Linked DNA regions of Homo sapiens: regions 2, 3 and 4 are each linked to region 1. Evidence: promoter capture Hi-C in human tissues and cell types (Jung and others, 2019). All regions are on one chromosome and are shown on one strand. Each heading gives the region's core, a stretch centred on a gene start or on the middle of the fragment in contact. The rest is flanking DNA. Distances are from core to core; before and after follow the strand shown. Region 1 holds the start of IDE (insulin degrading enzyme). Region 2 overlaps BTAF1 (B-TFIID TATA-box binding protein associated factor 1). Region 3 overlaps BTAF1 (B-TFIID TATA-box binding protein associated factor 1). Region 4 overlaps CPEB3 (cytoplasmic polyadenylation element binding protein 3).

Evidence for each region. Contacts are between HindIII fragments. The study calls those that stand out against the background at their distance.
Region 2: a contact is called between a fragment that was not itself captured here and the fragment with the promoter of IDE in region 1, in 2 of the 25 tissues and cell types used here (mesenchymal stem cells and stomach).
Region 3: a contact is called between a fragment that was not itself captured here and the fragment with the promoter of IDE in region 1, in 2 of the 25 tissues and cell types used here (lymphoblastoid cells and spleen).
Region 4: a fragment that was not itself captured here is called in contact with the fragment with the promoter of IDE in region 1 in 3 of the 25 tissues and cell types used here (mesendoderm cells, spleen and thymus).

What each region holds. Positions count from the first base shown.
Region 1 is chr10:92,571,556-92,576,397 of GRCh38, forward strand. IDE (insulin degrading enzyme) reads right to left here and starts at 2,538. Exons shown (of 25, transcript NM_004969.4): 1 at 2,367-2,538. The coding sequence starts at 2,464. RefSeq lists a silencer at 1,938-2,387 and enhancers at 2,888-2,947, 2,958-3,197. The HindIII fragment of the contact is 24,485 bases long and covers 525-4,842 here.
Region 2 is chr10:91,959,554-91,964,395 of GRCh38, forward strand. It overlaps BTAF1 (B-TFIID TATA-box binding protein associated factor 1), which reads left to right. Exons shown (of 38, transcript NM_003972.3): 10 at 232-327; 11 at 425-601; 12 at 2,985-3,125; 13 at 4,524-4,648. Among named protein-coding and RNA genes, the nearest start is that of BTAF1, 38 kb to the left of the region's middle. The HindIII fragment of the contact is 5,257 bases long and covers 1-4,415 here.
Region 3 is chr10:91,980,682-91,985,523 of GRCh38, forward strand. BTAF1 (B-TFIID TATA-box binding protein associated factor 1) reads left to right here. Exons shown (of 38, transcript NM_003972.3): 16 at 962-1,111; 17 at 1,402-1,544; 18 at 1,906-2,080; 19 at 3,520-3,723. Among named protein-coding and RNA genes, the nearest start is that of BTAF1, 59 kb to the left of the region's middle. The HindIII fragment of the contact is 5,774 bases long and covers 1-4,842 here.
Region 4 is chr10:92,045,044-92,049,885 of GRCh38, forward strand. It overlaps CPEB3 (cytoplasmic polyadenylation element binding protein 3), which reads right to left. Exons shown (of 10, transcript NM_014912.5): 10 at 1,649-4,842. Among named protein-coding and RNA genes, the nearest start is that of BTAF1, 120 kb to the left of the region's middle. RefSeq lists an enhancer at 911-1,587. The HindIII fragment of the contact is 5,365 bases long and covers 1-4,656 here.

The sequences.
Region 1 (4,842 bases), core at 1,288-3,787:
GAATGGGCTATTATCTCCAGGTGCCCCAGTAGTTCAGATAATTCCACACAGTCCCAAGTTATAAAATACAGCTGAACACAGAACAAGGAGGTTACTCTGTAAATGGATTGATCTTACATAAATGCTTTAAGACCATCTCTGTCTCAAGAGGTTAGACCAGAAAATGAATGCCCAAATACCAGCAGAGGCAGTACTTGTGTTTGCAAATACATAACAGTTAAGAGCTCAGGCTCCGATGCCAGATAGACATGGGTTAAATCCCAGCTCTTCCAGCAAATAGCTGTGTGGCTATCTCTGTTAAGACATTCTTCCGACTATGTACAGTAGGGCTGATTGCATTCCTTAAGATGAGAATATGTGGTAGCTTCAGATGTTAGTGCTTTCCTTCCTAAAACTATGCCCTAATCCCTTTGGTTGGACCTGTATTTTCCTCAAAAGCCTCACTCACTGATTTTAGGGTAGAGCTTTCTAGCTGGCTCATCTCATTCATTATGCTTTGAATCTCTCAAATTTCCATCTTTGAGAAAAACATATCTTAAAACTCTGGATGGTCGACCGGACTTTATAACTACAGAGAAAATGTAATTTTAACTAGAACATACAAACCACTTAGTTATACAAAACTTAAAATTGGTGCTTTCTTTAAAAATCACAAATGCTATATGCTGGAGACAGTATGGAGACAGCTAAGCCTAGCCTATCAGTAATGAATTTAGAACAAAAGCAGACTGACACAAAAGAGGACAAAAGGAGGCATCCTGCCTGTGCTTACCACCTGATTCTCTAAGTTCAGGGGTCTTTTGCACATTATAGGAGATTTTGTGATGTAGTGGAAAACAGAGGAGAACAAGTTCCATAGAGTCTTCATTTGTATTAGCTTATCTTAGTGCCCCACTGCTACCATCCTAATACAGGCAGTAAAGACTAAGTCCCAACAGGTTTCTCTGCCTTAGGACTCTCTCCACTTCCTGACATCCTGCACACAGCCACCAAACTACTTTCCTAAACCCCCAGTTCCATCAGATAACTTTCCAGCTCAAAAACTTTAATGGCTCCCTACCTACTACGCATTGGGAAAATCCCAACTAAAATTCAAGACCCAGGCCAGCATTACCCTACTGTTATAATACAGGACTTGTGTCCTTCTAATTACCCCAAGGAAATTCTATAAAGCTTCAACCAGACTAATCGGCTCACTGCTCCCCCAACACAAACTGCCCGCATATCTAGGCTGGATTACGCCCACGCCAGCCCTCACTCCAACCTTTCTGCCATTCCTTCCAAAGCCAGCCTACCCCCCCATCTCTGGCCCCACACACTACCCATACTACCCATCTTCTGACCCTCATCAACACACCCTTGTAGCTATCTCAATTCCCGTGGCATCCCAATCCGCTCCAATCAAGTCAAAGTTCCTTGGAAGGCAGACACATACTTTACATAGAGGGTCCAGCACAGTGCCCTGCACTTAGTAGGTGCTGGCTATTACTGATTAAAACCAGCAGGGGTTCAAATAACGTTTCTAGGGAGGGCAAGATAATACTGCCTATCTTCTTCCATTCGTAGTAAAAAGTATTCAGCGTTCACTACAAGCCTGAAAACGCCTAGCGTACGCAGATCAACGGTGCAGTGGAGAGGGCACGCCGCCGGATGGCAAAAAACCTGTGTCCTAATCCTGGTTTTGCCACAATCTCGGCAGTTGCTGGGAAATCAAGCCATCTCTCGGAGCTCCGGTTGTCTCCGACGTAAAACAAGGGAGCTGCTGTAGAGGATCCCGAGGTATCTTTTGGCTCCTAAATGTCCCCCGATAGGAAACCCCACACTCGTCTTCCAAGGCGGGAGGCAGGCAAACTTTTTTCCCAGCGCGGGCATTCCACACGGTCCTGGAAACTCAGTGCCCGGAGAAAAGGGCAGGGCTGAGGGCAAGGTGAGAAGCGGTCCCCCCGAAGTCGCCGGATTCCTTTACCCCACGGCTCGAGTCCGCCTCAGGTTCCCGGCCCCCTCACAGGCGGACTCCGGGAGAGTGACGCGGCGCGGCTCCCAGGTGCAGGCCGGGTGACTCTGTCCGCCCCTGCGCCCCCCGCACTAGTGGCACACGCCCCGTGGCCCCGGGTAGCGGCCCCGGCCCCTCACCAGCCCAAGGGACGTCCCCGACTCTGGACCAGGCCTCTGGCTCCCGCCTGGCGAGCCGCTCTTCCGGGCCCTGGGGCGGCCTCAGCGCGGCAGTACGGGCCCCAGGCCGGCGGGACGGGCGGCGTGAGGGGCAGCGGTGGCGGCTTTAAGTGCTGAATCACCACTTTGCAACCCGAGCGCCAAACCGCTGTGACCCACGGGGCCCGAGGGCCCGGGCGCTCCATTCCGCTTACCCACACAGGCGCTCCGGAGGCGGCAGGCGGGCGCCGAGGACTGAGCGGAAGGTGCTGGGCAGTGCGGGGTGCAGAAGCCACGCTAGCCGGTACCGCATTAGCCAGCGCAGTCGCCGGGATCACCGCAAACGCTTCCTGCTTGCGCTTCGAGCCGGCCCTGCGCACTGCGCATGCTCTAGCCGCGGCGCCGCGCGGTCTCCCGGGAGCTGCGGAGAGGTAGCTGCTCCGGGTTTTGCCTGGAGCCGGATGGGGCCAGGACGCAGGCGAGGACGGTGAAGACCGCGGACAGCCGAGGCCTGAGCAGGCGGACTGGAGGGACAGGGGTTTGGCCGGGGCGCTTTAGGAGCCAGCACCCAGACTTTCCCAGGCGGGGAGGGTCCCAGCTAGATCCCACCGGCCGCACTTGTGAGGGTGGCGACGTGTGTCTGACTGTGAGGGGGCGAGGGGCCGCTCATAAATCCAGTGAGGGCACACGGGGCTATGTTTTCTGAGGCACCCCCACTGACTAGCGTGCCGGACCCTGCAGGTGTTGGAACAAGGTTCGTGGTCGCGGCGGCCTCACGTAAAATGAATCCGCGGCCGGCGCGCGGCCCGCGGGCTCCCTCTAGAGCGCGGTGGGGACGTGGACCGCGAAGGCACAGATGCGCTGGAGACAAGGCTCGAGTGCGGCGTGGGGGAAATTCAGACGCAGGGGTCAGCGATAGAGAGGCCAGGACCCAGGGGGACGTTTCCATCCTTGGGGAAGTTAGCAGCTCTCTTAAGAGGAAGGTGCGGATGGGACGGGCGCCGCAGCAAAACAAGGCTTCAAATCCAGAGTAGAAACTACTACTCTTGTTAGTACTCCGTACTAGGAATACTACTAATGTCAGTCGGCTTCAGTGGTTACTTTTTAAACAAAGAATTTTCTCCCCAGTGGCTTTATGGGGCTTTGCACCCACGAACAACTTAATAGTTGTTATGAATCTAACTTTCCATAATACCTTATGGGAGTCTTTAAGGAAGAATGCTATTAGGGATGGTGACTTGCCAGCTTAAGTACTTTTAGGTTTCTGATTGACAGACGATCAAGACTGCAGCCAAAAACGGTGTCCTTAGTCCAAGTATTGCTTTAAATGGGAATTCAGTAGGAGGGTTCCTTAATCAAGTTGATGCTTTATCGAAGACGTACCCACGATCTTTTTAACAGTGCGGTTTCACCTAAAGGCAAACCTTTGGATGAAAACAGGTAAAAATTATGGCAAGCCTCCTAGTGGTGTTTGCAAGTGCATGGTTTTAAGAACCTTTAAATTACCAGTCCCAATGCAGAGTAGTCAATCACCTTGAAGCAGCTCCTCTGAGAGTGTTAATGCAGCCTTTCTGAATACATTTATGCTCCATTAATGGAATCTATAAATGGGCTGGGGTAGATTCAGACTTGGAGGGCTTGAAACATATACAATTTGGGGGACCTCTTTGAGACATAAAATACAAATTATAAATACAAAATTAGCAATCAGAAGATTACTATAGAGAGAAAATACATCACAACAAATACTCGAGACTTGGAGATTAGTACCCTTTTTTTTCCTGAGATCTCTTTAGGCTACTTATTAGAAATGCTTACATAAAAATGCTTCCAGATGGCCGGGCGTGGTGGCTCATGCCTGTAATCCCAGCACTTTGGGAGGCCAAGCCGGGCGGATAACGAGATCAGGAGTTCGAGACCAGCCTGACCAAAATGGTGAAACCCCGTGTCTACTAAAAATACAAAAATTAGCCAGGCGTGGTGGCATGCGTCTGTAATCCCAGCTACTGAGGAGGCTGAGGCAGGAGAATCACTTGAACCCTGGAGGCGGAGGTTGCAGTGAGCCAAGATCACGCCACTGCACTCCAGCCTGGGCAACAAAATGAGACTCTATGTCTCAAAAAAAAAAAAAATGCTTCCAGACAACAACTGGCTTTCCCTCTACAACTCCCAGTTTGGAGCCTGTGCAAGTGAGCAGCCCTGAAGTTTAAACTTCATTAGCTTCATGATAAATTTCCCTCTGGTTGGAGTAGATGTCCTGGATAAGAAAGATTAATATTAATATAGTCTCATAACTATCATCTCAATAAAGAGGAGGTGGATGGAAAGAAAAGTAACAATTTTGAGAGTCTACTCTGTGTCTGGCATTGTACATGGCTCCTTCATTAGTCATCATGACCACCCTCTGTAATGGATATTTCCTCACCTACCAGAGATGAGGAAGCTGTGGCAGAGAGAGGTTGAGTAACTTGCCAACAATTGGACAAAAAGAGTGGAGTTGTAATTTGAACCCAGGACTGTCTTATTCCAAAACCTGTGATTTGCTCATCTCATTTATGACTTGACAAATATTTGTTGAATGCCTTACAGATACCAGGTATTATAAAGGTGCTGGGAATACAGCAGTGGACAAAAAAGACAAAAGTTTCTGTCTTGATGGAGATTACCTTCTAGCTGTGTGGGAAAAACAGA
Region 2 (4,842 bases), core at 537-3,036, 610 kb before region 1:
TGTTTAATATTAAAGACATTAATTGGGACTATTCTACTTTTTGGTTGTTGTTCCTACAGCTAAAATCTGTCCCCATTTTTTATTTTTGATTTTGGACCTAAGGTGTCCCCCAAGTCCCCAGTACAAAGTATGATCTTTGTTTTTAAAAAAATTATGTTAAAAAAATGTGTGTGTGTGTGTGTGTGTGTATATATATATATATATATATATATATATATTATATTTTAACAGATGATTCAGCAGCATCAAGAGTGGTTGGAAGACTTGGTTATTAGACTCCTTTGTGTTTTTGCATTAGACAGATTTGGAGACTTTGTTTCTGATGAAGTAAGTATCATTTAAGGGAGGCTTTGCCCAATCAAATTTCAAATTCTACAAAATACGTTTTTTGCAAATATGAGTTTTCTTCCTTTTTCGTCTGTAGGTTGTGGCACCAGTTCGTGAAACTTGTGCTCAAACATTAGGTGTGGTTTTAAAACACATGAACGAAACAGGAGTTCATAAGACTGTGGATGTGCTGCTAAAATTACTTACACAAGAACAATGGGAAGTTAGACATGGTGGTCTGCTGGGAATAAAATATGCTTTGGCAGTCCGTCAGGTAAATATTTCAAGTTTTGAAGCTTATGTGGGAGAGTTTTTTCCCCCTTATAGTTTATTTTCACTAATTAGACGAAATGGCCGTAGATTCTTACTGTTACAGAGAAGCCAGTCTTCCAAGATTTGCCGTCTTGAGAGAGTGTCATAGAGATAGGTGGCGCTCATAAGAATTTAAGTATAAATCAAAAGATGGTTAGTTACATTGTTTGCTCTTTAAGTTCAAAGATTATTTTTCCTTTTTAATCCATTGCTACAGTTAATTCAGTGCTCTTCATGATTTGGTTTTACTGTTTTAACTCATTTAAATATTGAATACATGCTCTGAGGGCTATACAACATGGTGCCAAGTTATGCAGTATACATACAGGAGTAGACATCAAAGTGTAAAGCAGACAATCTGTATGGTCATGTACTTTTTACATAAACTGTCAGTGTTTTTTTTTTTTTTTTAATCCTTTATGACAAAGCTTAGAAGAAGAAAATGCATGTAGTCTTATTATTTTCATATAGGGAAATAAGTTCTGAAAAATTAGATGCCTTGCTGATGGTCACAAAACTAGTTAAGGTTAGTTAGTACTAGAACTAGAAACTAAATGGCATGTCTTATAGAACAGTGTTTAGTGTAATGTTATACATCATCTAGGATGAAAATACCTGCATATGCAGATAGTCCCCTACTCAGGAACATTTATGTTCCCTTAGTGGGTTATTAAAAACTCTGATATATTCTGGCTAGGACTTCAGTTCTTAGATTGGCCCACAAAAGCCTATTTCATATATAAATATATCTAAAGTCCTTTACTAAACTAATAAGTGCTGTGTAATCTATATATACACATAATATTTTTGTGGAAAAATTGATTCTGATTTCCAATATGAGATGCCAGTAAAACATCTCTTTTCTCCTTCTCCCTGCTTCTCCACCATAGATCTAGTGACAGAATTAGGGACTTCCACAAATAGTTGTCTTGACTCTGAACATAATGGGTCAGCAAAGAGTGAGTATTGACGAAAAAGAAGAGACGTGGAAGTAAAGGAGAGATTATGAATGAGGAGCTAGAGAGAGACCAGGACCTTTTCTTACCAGTTTAATTTCCCGTAATACTTTCCAGTTAGGATCAGCATTGTCAGGGTGTTAGGCATTGGCCTATATAGGCATTTCACTATCCATTATGGCTACTTAATGCTTTGTGCCAGCTTTTCTTCTCTTCCCATGCTCACTGTATAACAGATTGGAACCTCCCTTTCTGTCTCAAAAAGCAAGCTCAAAGGCCTTTTGAAGTTTTCTAAGATTGTCTTTTTTTTTTTTTCCCTTCTTTAACTGCCAATAACAAAGCATTCGTGATTCTGCTGAGAGACCTGAACTCTCTGTCCAACTCTTTTCTCCCTCTGCTCCCTTCCTTGCTTTTCCTGCCCCTTTTAGTGCTCTTCTCCCCTTGGCAGCCACCCTCTTACCCCCATAAACAAAACCTTTTTTTCTGTGTTCTGCACTCTAGCCTCTGTAGATAACAGTAGACTTATATGGAAATGGAAAGCACCTTATTTGTTTTTGAAATATTATCCCTATTTCGTAGTGAAACCAGTTCTCAGTGAGATTCCTAGTATATGATCACAGGAGTAATGTCTGGGGCCTGGTCTGTTGGGGGAAATGAAAAGACATTAAATTGGAATAATGAGAAGTGGGAAGGTATGGCTTTTCTTTCACTCTTCTCTCATTTTCCTTTTGGTTGTCGGTGGCATTGAATGAGATATGGAGGCTAGGATTCTGGCAGAGGGGTTTGTGTGTGTGTGTATTCACACAGAGAATTCATAGTCTTACGTATAAAACATGTTTTGATGTTTTATGTCTCATTGAATAAAGTACTTGATGCCCTTGTCTTTTTCAAATGGGATTACTTAGGCTTCTATTGATGTTACATTTTTGTTTATGTGATTGTTTTTTAGTAGGTACAGTCATAATGATGTTTCAGTCAATGATGGGCCACATATATGATGGTGGTCCCATAAGATTATAATACTGTACTTTGATTGTACCTTTTCTGTATTTAAATATACCAATATTTATCATTTTGTTAGTAGCTGCCTATGGTATTCAGTTCAGTAACATGCTGTGCAGGTTTGTAGCCTAGAAGCAATAGGCTGTGTCACACACATAGTTAGGCGTGGTATAGGCTATACTGTTTAGGTTTGTGTAAGTACACTCTATAATGTTCACAGAATGACAGAATTGCCTGATGTATTTCTCAGAATGTATCCATTGTTAAGCAGTGCATGACTATAAATATTGGAATTTAGCTGTCATGTGGCAAATTTAAATTTTAAAATGTTTAAGCACAGTAACTGTAGAATAGAAAATTAATTTATTTTCATGTACTGTTTTACAGGATGTAATTAATACTTTATTGCCTAAAGTTTTAACTAGAATAATTGAAGGACTCCAGGATCTTGATGATGATGTCAGAGCTGTTGCTGCAGCATCATTAGTGCCTGTAGTAGAAAGCCTTGTCTATCTTCAGACACAAAAGGTAAATTAAATATTTTTACAGTTTCTTACTATAGAGCTTGTTTTCATTTGGGATATGGAGTATTAGAAAATACATTGTGTACATTTTTCTCCTTCATCTTCAATTTTTTTTTTTAACAACAGCCCTCTGATGCATGCAATCTTGATTATATATTGTACTTTGGAAGAGTGAATTGGATCCATTTGTCTACTTTCCCTTCATGTACATAATATATAGGGAACTTCCTTGAGAAGAATGCAGCCATTTCTTCCTAATTTTACTCCTGGTTTTTAGATATATTGGATTTTTGTTTGTTTTGATTTTAGTTTTTGGATTGTTTTTTTAAATCTAGTCTCCCCTCCCCTCCCTGTCTCTCCTCTCCTCCTCTCATTATTAATTATTAATTAGTATTAATTATTAACTAATAAGTGCTGTGTAATCTATATATACACATAACATTTTCTTTCTTTTCTTGGGTCTCACTCTGTCACCCAGGCCAGAGTGCAGTGGATGACATGTAGCCCCACTCTCCTGGGCTCAAGCAGTCCTTCCTGCCTCAGCCTCCTAAGTAGCTGGGACTACAGACACATGCCACTGTGCCTTGGCTGATTTTTTAAAAGGCATGGTGGCGGGCGCCTGTAGTCCCAGCTACTCAGGAGGCTGAGGTAGGAGAATGGCGTGAACCCGGGAGGCAGAGCTTGCAGTGAGCCAAGATCGCGCCACTGCACTCCAGCCTGGACGACAGAGCGAGACTCCGTCTCAAAAAAAAAAAAAAAAAATTATTTTTTGTAGTGATGGGGGAGTCCCCCTATGTTGCCGAGGCTGGTCTCAAACTCCTAAGCTCAAGAGATCTTCCCAGTCTTGGCCTTCCAGAGTGCTGGGGTTACTGGTGTGACTCATCACACCCACCCCTCTAGTCTCATTTTTTGAAATGACTTTTTTAAAGATCTGGCTGACTTTCCACCTTATTATCAAAATCAGAACACAAAGTTAGAAGTACAGTAAGCAGTATTTTAAGAGCTTAAAAACTAAATTTTTTTTATGATGATTAGTACCATTTTAAATGCAGTAAAATTACATAGAAGAACATGTCTTGTGTCTCGATGCTCTGTTGTTTTCACTGTTAAGTTTTTTACATAAAATAGTTGTGGCTCTTTTATTTTCTGAATTCTACCCATTATGAGTCTGGTCAGGCAGGGAAGTATCAAAGTAGAGTTGAATGGCATTAAAAAGAAGGAATAGAGAATTGTTAAAGGCAAATAGTGTGACCTCCTTAACTTTACTCAAAATTGACACCGTCCAAGGTCATTGGAATTGCATGTGTTGTTGAATCAGTAGTGACCCCTGGGATACCATTTGGCAGGGTTTGTGAGTATTTTGTGCAAAATTGATAACTTTTCTTGAAAACTGATCTTATAGGTGCCCTTCATTATAAATACATTGTGGGATGCTCTTCTGGAATTAGATGATCTAACAGCTTCAACAAATAGTATTATGACTCTCCTTTCATCCTTGTTAACTTACCCTCAGGTCCAACAATGCAGGTAATTATTTCTAATTAGTGGAATAAAGTAAAAAGTCTTTACATACCTTTCGAGATAATTCAGCCTAAACATAACAATATTTTAGCACCTTTAAGAATAATATTATTTAAGCTGGAGATGCCAAAGACTACCGTTTTCAGAAGGCCTTGTCTTTTTTACTCTAGCCATTCGGGCAGCAGCTTACAAAGATCATT
Region 3 (4,842 bases), core at 1,625-4,124, 590 kb before region 1:
CATAATGAGACAGAGAACTAGGCTTCTTACATGTAGCATGTAATAGTTAAGTTTTGATTGGCCATGCTTCTTCCTCTTATTATGTGACTTACACAGGTGTTTTAAGCACTTTCTGATAGCCTCAATACAGAAAATGAAATGAGGAAAAGATTGCTTTTCTCTAGCCCTCATCTTGCTGTTTATCAATATGCTTATAGATCCTGCAAAGTATCTTTTAGGATCTGTTGGTAATATAGAGTCTAATTATTGTTGAAACTTGTACTTTTTTCCCTACTTAGAGTGATCATATGTGTTAGAATCATTAAAGGAGGAGCCGTTTGATATATTTAATAGCATTTATGGGGGGAAATGGCACTTTTGTACCTTTATAATCTGTTAAATTACTCTTGAATTGTTGGCCTCTAAAGTGACTCCTTGTTAACAACCTTGGATTAACAGTGGTGATCTTGCCATAGGCTAGTCCTAGCCCATTAAATGTTAGGCATCAGGAAAGGTACCTTATCCTTATTAAGTAAGATCATGAATCAAAACTTATACTGTTTTAAATTTATACTAGGTTATTACCACCTTTGAGTTTAGCAGAGAATATTAGGAGCTATTTTTAAATGTGTGTTGAATATAGGACTGCATTAATATTGAGTCTTATGATATATGCAAAGGATTTATTTCAGTGACTTACTGAGATTTTGACAATTTTGTATTACTTTTATAGGCATGTTTTTTTAAAAAGAGAATTGTGTTCTTTTTTTAAAAAAAAACTTTCCTTTGCATGACTTTTTTTTTAGTGCACAAACCTATTAGAAAACAGTACTGTATTTCAAAATAAGCCTCTATATTGAATTTCTAAATTAATCTCTGTGCTATTTCCTACTTAAAAAAACCTCAGTATTCCTAAAGATAAGTGTTAGAGTTTATTTTTATTAGAAAAAATTCACTTTCATGTCCCCCTTTTACCCTGCAGGTTTGGATGGAACTGTTGAGTAAGGCTTCAGTTCAGTATGTGGTAGCAGCTGCTTGCCCATGGATGGGTGCTTGGCTTTGCTTGATGATGCAGCCTTCTCATTTACCTATCGATTTAAATATGTTGCTAGAAGTAAAAGCTAGAGCCAAGGTAAGTGTAGAGGGACATAGTGTATTTGTGTGTTCATCATCTAATTATTAATACAGTAACCATATTTTTAAAAATCTGTATTGCCTTAAGTGTGATTTAATTAACATAAGTAAGGAGAAACCGTTATTTTATTAGGACCCTGACAAAATGAATAGTAATGTTTATCCATTAAAATTTTGTGAAAAGAACTGTATTTTACTGGGATTATTTTAAAAATATCATATTTTTGTTGTTGCCTATTCAGTTTTAATGGTTAATCTTTATTGTTTTTTTTTCCCCTCCCTCTGTAGGAAAAAACAGGTGGTAAGGTGCGCCAAGGCCAAAGCCAGAATAAAGAAGTACTTCAGGAGTATATTGCAGGTGCCGACACCATCATGGAAGACCCAGCCACCAGGGATTTTGTAGTTATGCGGGCCAGAATGATGGCAGCCAAGTGAGTGTACATTAAGTGTCAGGTAGTCATACATTTACAAGTCTGGCTTTCAAAGGTTATTTAACCAACAGAAGATTCCTCTGCTGTCTCCATCAGTCCTTCCTTCCTTCATCACACTAATTATAGCCTAAGGAAAAATTAGAGTAAGCAAATACTTCTAATTATTTTAAAGCTTTAAAATAGGATTTATATCTTCTTATGAAGACAAGATAGTCATTATACCTTCTGTGGGAAAAGTTATGGCTTCAAAAAGCCAAATTTTGCTTCAAGTAATTATAGGAAATTGAAAAAATTTCCCGAAGTATGGGGAAACTTTACTTCAAGTAATTTCTTATAGTAACTTCCTTTTTCTCCCTCTTAGGTTGTTAGGAGCACTTTGTTGCTGTATTTGTGATCCAGGTGTAAATGTGGTAACTCAAGAAATTAAACCAGCTGAATCCCTGGGCCAGTTACTACTCTTCCATTTGAACTCCAAGTCTGCTTTACAGAGGATTAGTGTAGCTTTGGTAATCTGTGAATGGGCTGCTTTACAAAAGGTAAGATTTTGCCCCAAAAGTAATAAAGACAAATTAAGTAAACCAATTTCCATTAGCTGTTAGGATTATTTACAACAGAAAAGTGAAAATTTTCGATGTATAAAAATCCAAGAGTTACAGAAAAGTGTCCAAATTATATTGAAGATTATTTCTCTCCCATTTACTTTTAACTCTGGACTTTTGTCTTAGAACCCCTACTCATACTTCCAACTACTAGTTATGCTCATACTTAATATTTGCTGTTGACTGTACAGTCTGTTAAGAAATATCCCTATTAAAAACCGCGTATATGTGAAAGTAGTCCAGAAACTATTGGTCATCCATTCCTCTATATGTCACTCAGGTATCACTGAAAACTACAAAGGATGAGGCTTTGAGTATTAGACATCCATCTGTGTGGGTAGTAGCAAAGGCAGAATTTTTGGTCACAGGAAGAATAACATCTCTGTATTTAAACCAAAATCTTCATGTTTCCAAATAAACCATTCCCTTCCAGCCTCTTTAACCGTTAACTTCTAGGGAGATGTATGATTTTGTATAAGACATACTTCTGTAAATCAAAGAAACTTTCTACTGGCTTTGTTTATTCCATTGACTGGAATTCTGGAAATTTAACTGTCTGCACTTGCTGTGAGAGTTACTTGTTACTGCCTGTTAGCAGTTTGTCAAAGCTGTATCTAAAAGTAATTGAGCCATGCTCCATTGCAGCTGACACCCCTGCTTGGCCTCTGGAAAGAAGCAAAGCTCATCTGTTTTTAGGCAGGAGTTGGTGTGCTGGAGAGGCAGTGATGCTATGTTTTTGTGCCTCTCAGACTTAGCAGCAAGTGTTGACAGTTAGGTTTCTGGACACTCACAGAGCTTCATGGACTTACTCTGTGAAGCCCAGGCTGATAACTGAGATGCCACAGAACCCCTCATGGCTCACCACTGAGGCCATTTCCTGTTGGTTTGGGGCAGGCAACAACCAGAGAGAGTGGGAAGGGTTAGTTAAATTTGGGGATAGATAAGTAGCTTTTAAAATTTATATCCACTTTTACAGTATGGCATGTGAAGCTTAGGGTTCAACTGTTATCTAATAATGAGTTTTTAAATAACATTTTTAATTAGTGCTTGATAGATTTCTTTTCTGATTTTTTTTTTTTTTACCATAATACACTTTAAAATCTGTGATATATATACACGTGTAAACTTTGGATAGGTAGAAAATGAAGTTGTAATAGTTCTGTGTGCATGTTCTGTAGTCATTCATGTTAAAATTTTACAATAATTTGGATGTAATACCTTTTTTTCTGTGCAATTAACTGTTGTTTGGAGAAGTAACAGAATATAGATTCAGTACAAGTAAGAATTTAGAACTTGGTAGTCTACAAATGACGATTTCTGTATCTATAAAGTTAATGTTCATACAGTTACCCTATTTGTTTTCTGTTGTATTTTAGGAGTGTAAAGCTGTTACCTTAGCTGTGCAGCCGCGTTTACTTGATATCCTTTCAGAACATTTATATTATGACGAAATTGCCGTTCCATTCACACGAATGCAGAATGAATGTAAACAACTTATATCATCATTAGCTGATGTACATATTGAAGTTGGTAATCGAGTAAACAACAATGTTTTAACAATAGATCAAGCTAGTGACTTGGTGAGTAAAGAAATAACTTTCTTAATTAGAGATAGAACATGAAATATAGGTTAGAAATTTGTCATGACATGTTTATCACAAAAACACATTAGTTTGTTGAGTCTGTATGTGGCTTGGTAGCCTGTCATCTCTACCCTTGAGAAAGGTTATTTCATTGTATAGGCTTTTCTTGAAATAAGAGAATAACAAAGAATTTTTTTTAAACCAAAATTCTGATAAATCAATGCACCTTTATTAGAAAAAGCTATTATATTTTGTCATTTCAGTTTTGCTTAACACTGCAGAGTATAGAAAAAACTGCTTCTACAAGTTCCTGAGTACTTCTTCCTGCTCTCAGCCTATAATGAAAATATTCAAACATATAGAAAAAGTGATGAAATTACATAACACTCATACTTAACAGCTAGATTTTATAGTTAACATTTTACCTAATTTACTTTATCACATACGTATTCACCTGCCTACCTCTCTATCCAACCATGAATCCATCCAGGGCAGTTTTTTTAAATGCGTTTCTAAGTAAGTTTCAGATATCAGTATACTTCAGGATTTTATATAATTAACTAAAATTCAGTATTTGTTTATTTTTTTTTGCTGTTCTGAGGAAAAATTTATGTGCTAAAGCACACAAATCTTAGGTGGACCATTTGGTGAATTTTGACAGATGCATATGCCTATGAAACCTGAACCACTGTCAAGATACAGAACATTATCATCACCACTTCCCAGTAATCTCTGCCTCTCCCTGCCACCGAGTAACCATTATTCTAATTCCCCCCCGAAGATACATTACTTTTGCCTGTTCTAGAATTTCATGTAAATGAAATCATACACTGTGCTCTTTGGTGTAAGGATTTTTCTTAGAATGGTATTTTTGAAACTAATCTGTGTTATATATATATATATCAATAACTTATTTTTTTTATTGCTTGAGTTTTATTTCATTGTATTATTATACCACAACTAGTTTAAGCCATTCTCCCGTTTATGGACACTTTGGCTGTTACCACTTTTTGTCTGTTGTGAAAAAAGTCACTATAAACGTTCTTCTGCAAGTCTTTGTGGACATCTGCTTTCATTTTTCTTGGGTAAATATGTAGGAGTGGAATTGCTAAATCA
Region 4 (4,842 bases), core at 724-3,223, 530 kb before region 1:
GCGTGAGAGTGCTTATGTGAATATCGCTTCACATACATGTGCCAAAGGTCTAGTGAAACATCACCACGGCCCAGTGTTAAAGCTTAATGTCCATCCGCGCTGCTGGTGATGAGTTTTCTTTTTGGTAAAGCCGGGACCTTAGACATAACCTCTGGCCACCTCATGGGGCCTGTCGCGCACAGCCATGCAATTAGCAAGCGGGGCTGCTGCAGACTTCAGGCACAGGGAACGCCAGGACTACCGACTGATTTTCCCCGCTAGAAATAAACACTAGTAGTCATAATGGCACTATTTACTTACCTAGTCCGTCTTCACACCAACAGTTAGGACATCGGAACCTTTTTTCTTTTTTTTTTTAAATCAAGGGACAAATGTGTGCTCCTAGTCAGACCGGCCGTCTGAAAGTAGGATTCCAATTGTGGCCTTAATGTATGTTATTATTTCTAATAAAAGCAGACTTAAAAGGGGCTCAAACACATTTTTCTCTCCATTTGGGCCAGGGGAGGGGGACCAAAGGGACCAGAGAGCTCCAAACGTTCCATCCGATCCCAGCGGCACAAGGGCTGAGCCTCCTGGTTTCCCTAGGTGAATAGGGGGCACCTGCTCCCTGCCAGGTGAAAGCTGGTGCTGAATAGAGCAACGTGCAAAGCTGAGCCTCGCGCAGAGCCAGGAGCGACTCCCCCAGGGTGGGCCCTGAGCTGCCCTTCAGGCCCGGTGGCACGGAGGGGCGCGGGTCACCGGCCCGGGTGAGCTTACCTGCAGGGCTGCGGCCAGGAGGAAATGCGCCACCGCCCAGGCCAGGGCCCCTGGGTGCGGGAGGGGCAGAACGTGGGACCTGGAGCGGGGACCGAAAGGGTGCGGGCGGGAGACTATGGGTGGGGCGGCCTGGGAGGGAGCCTGAGACAAGACCCGACGCCCCCAGCCGCTCCACGTCGCTCTGCAGAGCGGCTCTCCAGCGGCCCCGTCCTCTTCCAGGCGTACTGGGCGCGCCTGGCCTCGACCGCCGTAGGAAGGCGCTGCATGGGCCTGAGGCACCGACACAGCGGTTTCCTATCATGGGGGTGATCGCCGGGGAGTTGAAAAATACCTGTGGCCAGACCCCAGCCTAACCCAAGTGAATCTGTCTCGGGGACCGGGCTGGGGGGACGCTGGTCCCTGCTTGTTCTGAAGGCCCCGCAGGGGATTCGCTGGTGCAGCCACTTGTGATCCGTTTTCTAAATGGATTAGTCAGTACATGGCTTCTAGCACACCCAAAATCGATAGGGATTTTTAAAAGACGCATTTTCTGAAAAATCGGAGAGCCAGGTGTGAAAGATAAAGCGAAGTGGCACACCTACCTTTCCACTGTTTTGGTTGCGATTTTGAGAATTGGTTTCATGTAGCAAGTCTGGCATAAAAACCCAACTGCACCTCTAAAAAGGTGTGTTCACATGTGTCAACAAATACTTTGTTGCAAATATACTTGCATGTTTTTCATAAACGAGTGTTACTTGTGTCAGAGAAAGGGTGAATTCTGCTGTACTTAGTCTGCTTTAAAGGGATTTGTCAAAAAAAAGAGTTAAGCAAATTGGAATGCACCAATGTTCCCAGATGTGAACCATATACTCCAAGTTATTCCTCAGCAAATGCAACGGATGACAAGTGTCAGTACTTCATACAACTAGATTTAATAAGTTGTTATTACAGAAAAAAATGAAGTCCAAACTACAAAGTTTAAGCAGTTGTAAGCAGTAGCTGCATTGAGCTCCATGTTTAGTCACAGTACTGTAGTTCCATACAAGCAATATTAGTCCAAGCCCCAAAGGCAGAAGCTGAGTAAGGGTTACTAGCAAAAAACAATCTAAGAGAACAGGTAATAAAAGATACAATACATTTAAAATTAGTTGTTAGTTGAAAAACAAATACAGAGATCCTAGCTGTGAACACTCTAAAAGTTAAGTCCATTATTTTGACAGCAAAAAATACAAATACCTAATACTTTATACCCCAACAGAACTATATCCAGGAAAGAAAAAGAGCAGAAGTTATCCTGTGTTAGCACCCAAGTTTTCTACTTGTTGCAATTAACTTTGTCGTCATACAAATTTAAACATCCCCTAATCATGTAGCCACTTCTTGACCCATTTTGGGGTATAAAGTCAACAGCATTAATTATAAAACACTCTGTGGTAAGATGGAACACTATTGCAGCTGAGATAGAGAAGTTTGGTTATTATAAAAGAAAAAAAAAAACAAATGTTAGCTGACATACCATACAAGCTAGTGAAAAGCAACAATCCATTCAAATAAGCCAGTTTTAACAAAAAGATACATTTTTTTCACTAATCTGTGACTAATCTTTCACTCAAACCTTGCAAGTAGAGATGTCACAATACTCAAATATTTAGGTAGGAGCTTTACCCAGTTAAATGCCATTTTTGTTGCTAATATAATAGATAAAATGAAAACTAGCAGTTATTTGCTAATTGCATAAATGCAGTACATTCTGCATTAGCCCATGCCTCACTAACAAGCTATAAAACACAAGATATAGGCAGAAATCTAAGCATAATCTTTATACCACTAAGCAAGAATTTTCCACTTTTCTTCTGTTCCTAATCATTTATTTGTAGTTAATGTAAAATTCCAACCAGTAGTACCCAATTTGAGTTAAAATTTTACATCACAACTTGATCTAATCTATATATTATTTACAAAACTGAATACATAGAGCATACCCAAGACCAACTCTGGACACAAGTTTCTCTGAGTTATTGATGAACCTCGCCTCCATAGCGATGGAGCTGAAAGAGGCCATCAACCACTAGTAGAAACATATCATCTATCTGGATCAAGTCATTGGCTGTTCTGTTTACGCAACACCAGTTTTGCAGTTGTAGTTTTTGCTTTGACTGTAGGTGCTATTGCAATGACACATTAATGACTGTGCCTTAACTGCCCAGCTTCCAGGTGAGGAGGGTGTTGGAAAAGCAGCAGCAGAAAGGCAGACAGATCATGCACGCAGTTGCCACAATGAAAGGCAAGGGGCACCAGAACAGGAAGCAGGCATGGGTGTGGAGGAAGATGCAACCCGACACATAGTCAGGGTCCACAGACAGTGGTGACATCCGAGTGTGCTTCCTCAGTGCCACCAACTGAGCCTTACAGGGAGGCAGCATGAGTGAGACCCTGCAGGTGAGGTCTGCAGTACACCACGAAAGCCGTGTCCTCTTAGCAACTTCCTGTATGACTCCGATATCACCACTGTCAGTGCACATAAAAGATTCGGCCTGGGAGAAAGGCACTGTCTCACACAAGGACAGCAGTTGGTGGCAGTTTTTCTCTCTCTCTCTCTCTCTCTCTCTCACACACACACACACACACACGACATAATGACGAGTTAGAGGGGAAAAAGCAATGAAACATTCTGTTGACTTAGCCAGATTTTAAACCCAGTGGTACTTCGGTTGGGTGACTTCATTCTCAGGGCCACAGGTTTGGCTGCACCTGGTGTTGTATAAATCCACCGTGACATCCCTAGAGAACTGCACTGTGACATCCCTAGTCTTACACTAAACCACTGTGATAAAGGAAAAGGCTTCTCAAAATCTCACATGTTCTGCTCATTCTGTCATTTTATTACCCAATTATCCATTACATTTCCAATCACTTTACATAACCAAGCATTTTCATCGTTGTCACACTATTGTAAACCACATCAGCAAGTTAATACATAAAGCTTTGCATTTCAAAAAACTAGACACTTTAGTAACAATATTACAAAGGTTTTAGCTTCAAAAATAACTGAAAATGAAAAAAATAAACTTTTAAAGAATTAGCATCATAAAATTAATTTATTCCAATAAAAATACAAAATAATATTATGACATTGACCAGATATGAAAGTCCCTCCCAGAAACAACTCTATTAATGATTGAGAAAGCACTCCTTAAAGAAAATACGAAATAAAATGAAAAATATGTAAATATGTTTAATTTTTTTCTTAGCAAAAAATCTTTCTAAAAATAACAATGAAAATTTGTCTCAGTACAAAGGCTACATTACTATTGAAAAAATACCAGCATGAAGAAAAGGTACATATTTGACAGTAGAAAAATGATTTCAGTGAATCACAATGTCTAAAGTTTGCAATGAAAATAAATCTGCAATAAAGATTTATGCCTTTTTTCTTTTCTTTTTTTTTTCTATTTTTTATACAAACAGTACAAACAGTATTGCACATAACAACAAATAGTCGAGGTTAGGTTATAGCCTTCAAAAAATCGACTAGTTCAAGTGTCACACCAAGGAAAGGCCACAGCAGGACCTGTGTTACCCAGGGGCTTCCCAGTCAAGTTGCAGGTCAGAACACCTCTGTGTTTTAAAAAATAATTTTTTTGAAGGACCCTCTCTTTTAATATAACATTAACAACTTGGGGGCACATTTATTTACAAAACAAAAGGGAACATGTTATAATTTAATAAACTAAAAAAGTTCTCTTTAAAAAAATACAAACAGAAGAACTCTTTCACAATCCTGGTCAGTCGCGCACAATCAACACTTGATTAGAAATATACAAATTAAGGGAAAGTAGTTTCCACCATCTATTCACAACTTTCAGCACCAAATGGAGTTTATTTTTTGTAACCTATTCTTCAGGACAATGTTTTTTGCCTTCACTTTAGCTTTATGCTGTACAATCTTCCAGCTTTTAAAAAAATCTCAGTGTTATTTTAATACATGAAAGAGGGGTGCTTCTTCAAAAAGTTTTGCTTCTTTCACATAATTAGGTAGATTTCTGTAGGTTAGATATGATCTTTAATATTATAGTTATAAAGCTCTAACTTCTTCATTTTCAAAAA